2 separate regions of the Homo sapiens genome follow, and region 1 is linked to region 2. The links are contacts of gene promoters, found by promoter capture Hi-C in blood cells and fetal thymus (Javierre and others, 2016). All regions are on one chromosome and are shown on one strand. Each heading gives the region's core, a stretch centred on a gene start or on the middle of the fragment in contact. The rest is flanking DNA. Distances are from core to core; before and after follow the strand shown.

What was found. The method cuts DNA at HindIII sites, captures the fragments that hold promoters and counts their contacts. A CHiCAGO score of 5 or more calls a contact.
Region 1: a fragment that was not itself captured here is called in contact with the fragment with the promoter of ADCY5 in region 2 in 1 of 17 cell types (megakaryocytes); the score reaches 5.7 in megakaryocytes.

Annotation. Positions count from the first base shown.
Region 1 is chr3:123,325,193-123,330,071 of GRCh38, forward strand. It overlaps ADCY5 (adenylate cyclase 5), which reads right to left. Exons shown (of 21, transcript NM_183357.3): 6 at 3,452-3,610; 7 at 2,426-2,567; 8 at 130-270. Among named protein-coding and RNA genes, the nearest start is that of ADCY5, 120 kb to the right of the region's middle. RefSeq lists enhancers at 3,156-3,657, 3,658-4,157. The HindIII fragment of the contact is 2,445 bases long and covers 1,749-4,193 here.
Region 2 is chr3:123,447,840-123,452,428 of GRCh38, forward strand. It overlaps ADCY5 (adenylate cyclase 5), which reads right to left and starts at 1,251. Exons shown (of 21, transcript NM_183357.3): 1 at 1-1,251. The coding sequence starts at 706. RefSeq lists an enhancer at 1-312. The HindIII fragment of the contact is 9,434 bases long and covers 1-4,589 here.

The sequences.
Region 1 (4,879 bases), core at 1,721-4,220, 120 kb before region 2:
ACTTGTATTTGCTTGTGTGGCTCCCCAGATTCCCTTGGGCAACACGAGGCATCTGGTGCGGGCCTCATGCCCACAGAAGGCCCTAGCCTTGGAGAGTGTTGCCCACAGGCTGCCCCACCAGCCACTCACCATCCGCTTCATCTCCTTGGACACCTGGTTGCCACCCAGGTGGTTGTAGAAGGGGCGCTCAGCCCCCCAGTGTGGTGGGTTGTGCCCGATGGAGTTGGTTCTCTGGCGGTTCATCTTGGCGATCATGGCCTTCTCTTCTTTCTGGAAGACGAACACAGAGATGGGGGGAGATGAGGAGTCCAAGCGGAGGGCTCCTCACCCTTCCCCAAACATCGTACCTGGCCAGGTAAGGGGCTAAGGCAGCTGCCCTTTCCTCTCTGCACAGCCCTGGAGCCAGAGCTCGGCCCAGATCCTGGAACTCCCCAGGCAAGCATCCTGGATCTCTCCAAACTCCCTAATGCCAGCCCTGGCTGGCTCAGGTGGGAGTGGCAAAAGATGATGAGAGTTGGTCTTGTGAGAAAGCAAAGAGCTTGGGAACATCTGCCATTTGCAAGGAGTTCTCCCTGTAAGTTCGACTGTAAGATTCTATCCTGGGTGCCCTTCTCTCCTCTGGATGGCCTAGGCTCCGAAAGGCCTGAGCTGACGCACCCAGCTGCCCGCACTGTGCTTCCTCCCCCTACTCTGTGGGGCAGGGTGATCAGCGAGGGCTGAGCTTGGGTCTCCCAGGCAGCCAGGCCAACTCATACCTAAGCCTCCCAACTTGGTCCCTGGCAGGCTGTGGTGTCACATCAGGCTTTGCTCATGGGCAGGCCAGGGTAGGGCTCTAGCTACAGCCTCAAGGGTGGGTGGGGCCTGATCTGAAGTTGCCCAGGGGGTACCGGAGGGAGAGGAGACCTGGGATCACAACCTCTGCTCAACTTCTCCAAAATATGCTACAACAGAGAGGGCACTAGGACACGGCCCGGGGCCCAAGAGGCCACTTCCAAAGAGGTTTGGGTCAGTGAAGTTATGAGATTCAAGAGCTGACAGGCATTGTACAAATACACAGAGTCTCAGTCAGCTATCTATGGGCCAACACACTCCCCAGGATCTCATCTATCTGTCTGTCTGTCTATCCATCCAAATGGGTGCAAGAGAGCTAGAGACCTGAGGCAACCCTCCCCTCAACTCCCTCCCTTGTCAGATGAGGTGACGGTGGGGACACAGCCTGCTTCAGCTGACATTGCTGGTGGGGGTGCCTGTTACTCTTTCTGTCTCCATTTCATCCTTTTTGGACCGCTTGTCCAGCTAAAAGAACCAAGAGCCAGGGAACTCAGGGTCTAGGGCAGGAAGCTGCGGGAGGCCTTGTGACCCAGGCACTGAGAGATGTGGGTAAAGAGCCTGGAGGACCCAGTTCATTGATACTATGGCCAAGGAACTGGCCAACGCTTACAAACGTGTCAAGGAAACCATGAGGAGCTGTCCCCACAGGGCCCTGAATCCCCCATCCCTCTTCCTGGTGCCTGTGGAGGGTCTGACACAGCTCCCATGAAGGGCCCCCGAGCCAGGATCTGTCCCCTGGGGTACTGCATGGTAGGATAAGGTGTCCCTCTGATGTCCCTCTTGGCACGGGCACCTGCCCTCAACAGCCCTGCCTGCCTCCCTTTAAAAATCACCTTTGCTGTCATCCAAGACTCTCTGAACTCTTCTCACAGACTAATTTTGTCTTTCGTTTCACTTCTTAGGAAGAGAAATGGGGAAGCTTTTCTCTATCAAAGGGCACTGACTGGCAGATAAATTCCACAGAAAGACTCATAAGTAAAAGGCATTTTAGTTTAGGGAGAAATAGAAAATGTTCTCTTGATTTGCTTTAAAAATTAAGAGCATGGAACATGACACTATTAAAAATAGAACACTGAAGTCTGCTAATAATTTAGCTTTATATTTCAGCAAGTGTGGGCTGAGACAAAGGGGGAAAAAGAAACAGACTAGAAAGGGAAAGGGGAAAATAGGTTCAAGAAACAAAGACATAGGCACATGTGGAGATGGACACCGATCTATGGATCAGAGAGAGAGAGATTAGGGCAAGTGTCCACCCCAGTAAAAGGCAAATGAAAAGGAGAGAGATGGAGATAAAATATACGGTATCCACAGACTCCCTTGATGCTGATTTCCAGCTTGTGGACTTCTGATGTCTTGTTGCTAACTGATTTGAGGCCTGTTGCATTTTTGCAAAAGAAGCACTATTAAAAGATTCCCTCTTTACCATCCTTTTTGCAAGGCCTAACTGCCGGGGTCCTTTTTAAGATGCAGGAACCGCAACTGCATAAGAAATTCATGACTTCACTCAAGGAAAGAGAAGGAAGCAGCAGGTCACGAAAATGTTCCTCCCTGGAGGAAGGGAGCCCCTCAGCCCCCCGGCCCCCAGCCCACAGACCCGCTTCTGGGTGCAGCGCAGGATGAGGAAGGTCTCGATACTGTGCTCCTTGAGGTAGGCGTTGCGCTCGCCCCCACAGCCTGGCTCCACCTCGTAGTCCCCATTCAGGTAGTTGAGTGTAGCCTTGGTGATGTGGATGCGTCTACAGGGGGGCAGGGATCAGGGTGGAGAGGGCAGAAAACTCAAAGTCATAATGTCAGCCCCCGTGAAAAACCAAACTGCAATTAGTGGGTTCACCACAATTCAAACCCTAGGGCCCCAAGCTCTGCTCAAATCCTAACCTCAACCTTGCATGGTACCCTCCATTACTATCAAGTGGGCTCTCATGCCCACTGCAACCACACTGTCTCACACTGAACATCCTGGCACAGACCACTACATTAGCTTGCCCAAGACAACATGGCCTCCAGTCTTGCAAACTTTGCAAGCCTCTCACTCCTGCTCAGAAGCCAGCAATGGCTCCTGCACGCGACAGGACGGAGTCCAAATTCACGAGCCTGGCACTCATGCCTTCTGAACACAGGCGCTGTTTCTCCTAGCCGTCCCTAAAAGGCCATCGGCTCTTCTCCCATTCCTTGGAAATGCTGTGTCCCCCACACCTGTGCCTTGCCTCGCTGTGTTCCCTCCGCCTAGCAGCAGGCTCTTCCCACCCCACCTTCCTCACCCCTCCCAGTCCTGCCTCCTTTATGGTCTAGCCATCCCAGAAACTATCTGTGATTCCTCCCTCCTCCAGAACTCTGTCTATCACACCTCACCAGCCACCATGGTTTGGGTCAATATCTTCTGGGTCAAGGCTCAGGGAAGGGTGACATAATGCTCCCACAACTGGCCAACGGTGGCACAGGTGATTTGGCAAGTAGAGGAATTTCTACTTCCACTGTGCTCACCCCAGCGCCCCCACAGGTGCTTGCTGCCCATCCTGCCCACCCCACCCTGCCCCGCCTCGCCTCTGCAGGATGGTCACCCTGGGTGGGCTTGAGTGGGAACCCAGGTCGGGGCCCCAAGCCACCCACAGCTGTCACTCACCCTGCCTTGCCGCCAGCCTCCATGTGGTTGGCTAGCGTGACATCGTTAGACCAGACGTCGAACTGCCACTTCCTGAGACCAAGGACACCGCAGTGTACTCGCCCGCTGTGAATTCCCACACGCATGTTCACGTTCACCCCTGTCACCTCCCGGACCAACCTGGGGATGGAGCAGGAGTAAAGCTGGGAGAAGGCTGGAGGCCAGGCACACAGAATGGGGGTGAGGCTGCAGGTGCAGGGAAGGTGAAGGTGCGGGGGTCAAAGAGTCTTCTCTCTCCCATCCAGCCCTAGAGTCCAAGAACGTTCAGCCTGAAGGGCACTGGGGCGGGCGGCAGGTGCAGTCGGCTGTGAAAGGGGCTGTTCCCGGCCTGGCCACAAGGTGGCGCGGTGCCACACTAAAACCTAGAGCCCTGCTGCTTCCCCTCCAGGAGGGCACCTCTGGCCAGCACTGCCCTGTCAATTAAATTGTGATTGGAAAAATGCAAATGCACGTTAGGGCCGACTTGAATTAAACAGGGAAGTTACCACCACTCCAAACCCTATTTGTATAATGCTCTTGTGGGTAAGACAGAAATGGCTTTTGGATTATCTTTTTATTGGATTTATCCACACTGCTGCTTCCAAGATGTTAGCAGGGTGATGGCAAAAGCTGGTTACCCAGGTTTCAAGGGTATGGCCTGCTCAGGAGGGAAGGGGAGCCTGGGCAGGTGCAGGGGCTTAGGGTGCTCCATGCCCTAGAGGAAAGCTTGGTCCCGGCCACATGCACCACATATCCATATCTGGGAGCTCCCAGTAGACAGGGCAGGCCCTCCGTATGCACTTATAACTCCTCATGCTGGGCGAGCAGTGGAGGCAGACTGGGAAGGAAGCCATACATCTCCAGGTGCATGTCTGAGGCCCATGGGAACCTGCCCAGCATCTGCAGGAGAGGGTGCAGGTGCCAGGAAGTAGGGTAATGGATGAACTCAGATTGCACTTTCTAGGGCCCTAGACCCTCCCTAACACCTGGGGCATGGGCGCACTCAGCTAGCCAGGGGACCAGCAGTCTGACTTGCCCCAGTGGGTGGGACCACCACTGAGACTCCCTGACCCCATCCCACGCCATCAGCAAGAGGCTGACACCCACTGCAGGGGAGACTGAGGTCACCCATCATTTCTCTTGTCCTGAATCAACTTGGTAAATACCTCCACTGCAGCAGAATACCTTCACTGAAATACTTTCCATCCACAGTGCCTTTGGATACTTGCTTAGCTTGACAATGGCTCATTCTGTCTTTTTGGCTTAACTCCACGGCCACCTCCTTCAGGCAAACTCTCTTGATCCTCTCAGTGGAATCAACTGTCCCCTCCTGGGCCCTCCTTCAATAGTCTGCCTCCCTTACCTCGCCGTGTCCACATGACGTGCCTTGTATCTGAGCACCAGGAGTCC
Region 2 (4,589 bases), core at 1-2,500:
GGAAGAAGTAGCGCTGGTACAGCCGCTCCAGTTTGTCCGACGGGAACTTCTTGGAGCGGAATATCTGCAGCAACGCCAGGCAGCAGGCGCCCAGGGACAGCACCGCGCCGGGCCCCGCGCCCGAGCCCGAGTCCGCCGAGCTGCCGCCATCCCCGGACCCCTCGCCGCCCTCGACGGCGCCGGCCTCCAGCTCGTCGGCCGCGCGCCCCTTGCCCCGCCGCTCCTCCAGACCCACCTCCACCGAGCGAGGGCGCACCTCCGTCCCGCCCGCCGAGGCAGCCGCCGCCGCCGAGCCGCCGCCGCCGCCCGCAGGGGGCGCCCGGGTGCTGCCCCCGCTGGCCGCGCCCCGCCGCTGCCGGCGGCTGCCGCGACCGCAGTCGTCGCCGCCGCGCTCCTGCCAGGCGGACTTGGAGCGGAAGCTGAAGCCGAAGCCCCCGGCCAGGGGGTCGTCACCGCTCAGCGGAGGATCGTCGTCGTCGTCGCTGCGCCAGCGGCTGGCCAGGCGCTGCTGCTGCTGCGGGGTCACCGCCCCCCCGGGTTTCTTGGTGGAGCCGCGGGCAGAGCCCCCGGGGGCATGGGGGTAGCCATTCGCGCGGGAATCGGCCTCGCCCCACGCAGAGCGGTGTTCGGGGCCTCCCCGGGGCGCCGGCGCCGCAGTCTTCTGCGCCGCGTAGCCCGGGGGGCTCACGCTTTTGGAGCCGGACATCCCCCCCTCGGCCTCGTCGTCTCCTTCCTCCTCCCCCGGAAGCCGGGCCGGGGGTCTCCAAGGGGAGGGCGGACGGCCGAGCAGGGGGACCAGGCTAGGGTCACACGTCGGGGGCGGCCCGGGGCCCTGCGCTGCAGCGGGGCATCTTGGCACCCCCGTCCTGAGCGGAGGAGGAGGGCACAGCCCCGAGGTGAGAAGTAGCTGAGGATCCGCGTCAGAAGTCCCAGGTCCGAAATGGAGTTGCCTCCGAGGTGGGGTCGCAGGGACTGGTCTGGCTGCTGCTGCGCCGCACGCGGAGAGACGTCCGGGATCCTGGCTCGCGTCGAGCTCGACGAGGGCCGGAGTTGCGGACGAGACGGGACGGAGTGGTGTCCTTGCGGGCGGTGCCTCCTCGGGCCGGCAGTGCCCGGGCGCGGCGCTCGCTGATTCCGCCTAAGCGGAGCCCAGCTGCTCTCGGGGCTCGGCGGCGGCGAGGGCGGCTCGGCGGGGGTCCCGGCGAAGAGACACTGCGGGTGCGCTTTCCTCGCAGCGGACTGGGAGCGACTGGGAGGTGCGGGCGCCAGCCAGCATTATTTTCTTACGAGGGGTGGGGAGGTGGGATGGGAGGTGGAGAGGACGGGGGAGGGGGCGACGGGCGGAGCAACAGCTCCGGAGCCCCGGGGGGGAGGGTCCTGGAGCCCGGGGGGGCCGTTGCCCGCATCCCCCACCTCTCGCGGCGAGAGTGGATGCGTGGCCCCGGCGAAAGCCGAGCCGAGCCTTCGGCGCGTCCGCGCAGGGGGCGGGGTCCGGGTCAGGGACCGGCTCCTGCGGTGCGGCCCTTCCCCTCTCGCCTCTCCCTTTCCCGCAAACGGAGCGGGGCCGGCCGGGACCTGCCGGCCCGGAGAGCTGTCGCGCCCGCTTCGCAAGCCCCAAGCTCCTCGTCGCCGGCTGCGGGCCCACCGCGGCCGGCGCGGAACGACTAGGCGGAGGACGGAATCCGGCGCAGCGCTGCCGCGGTTCTGCCCCGACGCAGGCAGGCTTCTCCCGGGGAGTAAGGCATCCAGAGATCCAGCGCCGGGGCTCAGAAGCAGCCGGCCCAGAGGGGCCCGCCTGAGAGCCGCGGCGCCCGAGAGGCGCTCCGGGGGGGCCCGCGGGAGCCCGGCTCAGGGCGCGCCATGCACGCTTCGGGCCCTGCGCCGCTCCGGCCGCTCGCGCCGCTCCTCCCTTCTCGCCCGCTCGCCGCCGCCGGAGAGCCCTCCGCATCCCCTCCTCCCGCTGCCTCCCCGCCCCCCGCGCCGCCCGGGCCTCGGCTCACAGCCGCGCGAGGCCGCCTCCGCCCCCGGCCTGGCCATGGCCCCAGCCTCGGCGCCCCGCGGGCATCCTCAGGCCTGGCCGCGGGCACCCCAGTTCCCCTTCCTCACCTAAAATTCTCGCTGCGCCCCTCCCTCCCTGGGACTAGGAGCCGCATCCAGCCTGCGGTCCCGTCACCAGACCTGGGTGGAGCGCGGTCTTCCCCCGCCCCCGGCCAGGGCTCCAGCGCCCCCAGTCCTAGCTCCCCTCTTTTGTATCCCCCTTTAATCCCCCTCCCCCCATTTAACCCAACTTCAGCCCCGGCGCTGCGCCCCCCTTCCCTGGCCCGGCTCGATTGGCCGCTTCCGGAGCTGTCAGACTACAGTCCGGCGCTCTTATTGGGCGATTCTCTGGCCCGGCGGCTGTGCCAAAGGAGGGCGCACCGGGTGGGGGGCGCCTGGGCAGCGAGTGCCTCAAGGAGAAGGAGAACAGAGTCCCTGGAGGGGTCTCAGGGGCCGGAGAGCCAGACCCGGAAATGGACAGGGGAGATGCAGAAACAGGACTTCTGAGACGCAGGAAGACAGTGATGGAAAAGATGGTGATGCAGTGGGTGAGGCCGATGCAGCCGGGGCGGGGCGGACAGGGAGGCTTTGGTGGGTAGTTACCAGGAGAAAGCCCCACAGTGAACACTGGAAACACCTGGCTTTTATAAAGCGCTCTTTGCCTGTTCGTAAAGTCTCATAAATCTCACTTGGTTCCCGTCAGTAATCCTAGGATGAGACAGAGGACAGAGACCGTGTAGCTATTCCCAGCTTATAGATGCAGAAACTGAGGCTCTGGGAGCTTATTCAACTTGCTATAGGTCACACAGGTCTACTAACTTGGCACCCAAAGGTCCTTCGTCAGCGCCAGACTGCCTCCCTAACCTAACAAGGTGTTAGCAGGAAGGATGGGCACCTGAGCAAGCTGGCGTGCCCACTTGGGGGGAAGCAGGGGAAGGGGAAAATGGCTAGATACACAGCACCAGCCACAAGAGGCAGGAATGGAGAGAAGGATTCGACTGCTAGGCAAAAAGGACGTAGGCCTGTAGAATGATGTGTCTACCCAATTCCCTTTGCCCCCAAGCTGTCCTGCTGGAGTTCTGACAGTCTAAACCCTGGAGAGGTGGGAGACCACACTCCTACCCAGCCTGGGGGTAAACAGCTTTTACTTTCCCCTTCTTCATCCTCCAACTCTCTCCCCAGAGCTTCTGACAGGGAGCCTAGAGGTCTAAGTGAGCTTCCTTCTTTGTCTCTCTCTGCTGGTCATCTCTGCAGACTGGAAGATAAACCTTGCCAGAGTTACAAATTGGGAGGAGAAAAATTCCAAGAGGTCAGAATAAACTAACCCTTGGGTAATCCAGCCTTTGAGTATTCCACTATTAGCCAAGTTGTAAAAAAAAACATGAATTTAGTCAATAAAAATTCTAGAGAACCCTCAATGTACAAAGCATTGTGCTAGTTGCTACCAGGATAGAGAGATGACCAAACTCTAGACCGGGAACAAGTCGAACAAGTCAGTGACGGAGAAGAGCTAGCCACTATCTCTAGGTCAGAGCAAAGTTCTGGGTTCAATAGAAGTGCAAACAGCACCTCGGGCATTCAGAGAGAGGGGGTGTCACTTCCCACTGTGAGGGCCAAACAAGGGCCTGGAAGTCAAACCTGGGTCTAGCAGGGAAGGATGTCTAAGAAAGGGAGGATGGACTAATTAATATTTACTAAGCAACTGTTGTATGTCTGTAAACATTTTATTGTCAGATAACTATTCTGAGGAAGGTTATCCCCACTATAAAGATGAGAAAACAGACTTAGGGAATCAAAAAGTTTGTCCAGCCAGGCATGGTGGCTCATGCCTGTAACCCCAGCACTTTGGGAGGCTGAGGCAGGCAGATCATCTGAGGTCTGGCGCTCATGACCAGCCTGGCCAACATGGTGAAACCCGTCTCTACTAAAAATACAAAAATTAGCCGGGCGTGGCGGTGTGAGCCTGTAATCCTACTCTGGAGGCTGAGGCAGGAGAATCACTTGAATCCGGGAGGTGGAGGTTGCAGTGAGCCGAGATCATGCCATTGCACTCCAGCCTGGTTGACAGAATGAGACTCTGTCTCAAAAAAAAAATAAAAAATAAAAAGGCCGGGCATGGTGGCTCACGACTCTAATCCTAGCACTTTGGGAGGCCAAGGCAGGCGGATCACGAGGTCAAGAGATCGAAACCATCCTGGCCAACGTGGTGAAACCCTGTCTCTACTAAAAATACAAAAATTAGCTAGGCGTGGTGGTGTGTGCCTGTAGTCCCAGCTACTTGGGAGGCTGAGGCAGGAGAATTGCTTGAACCCAGAAGGTGGAAGTTGCAGTGAGCCAAGGTTGCACCACTGCACTCCAGCCTGGCAACACAGCAATACTCTGTCTCAAAAAAAATAAAATAAAATTATTTATATATATATATATATATATATATGAGTTTGCCCAAAGCTCATAGTTGTAGCAGTCTGCTCGTTGTATTCTACCATGCAGCAATGTAGCAGATATGACATGGGTGGCACCCTCAAGACATAGTCAACTGCACGGACAGGGGC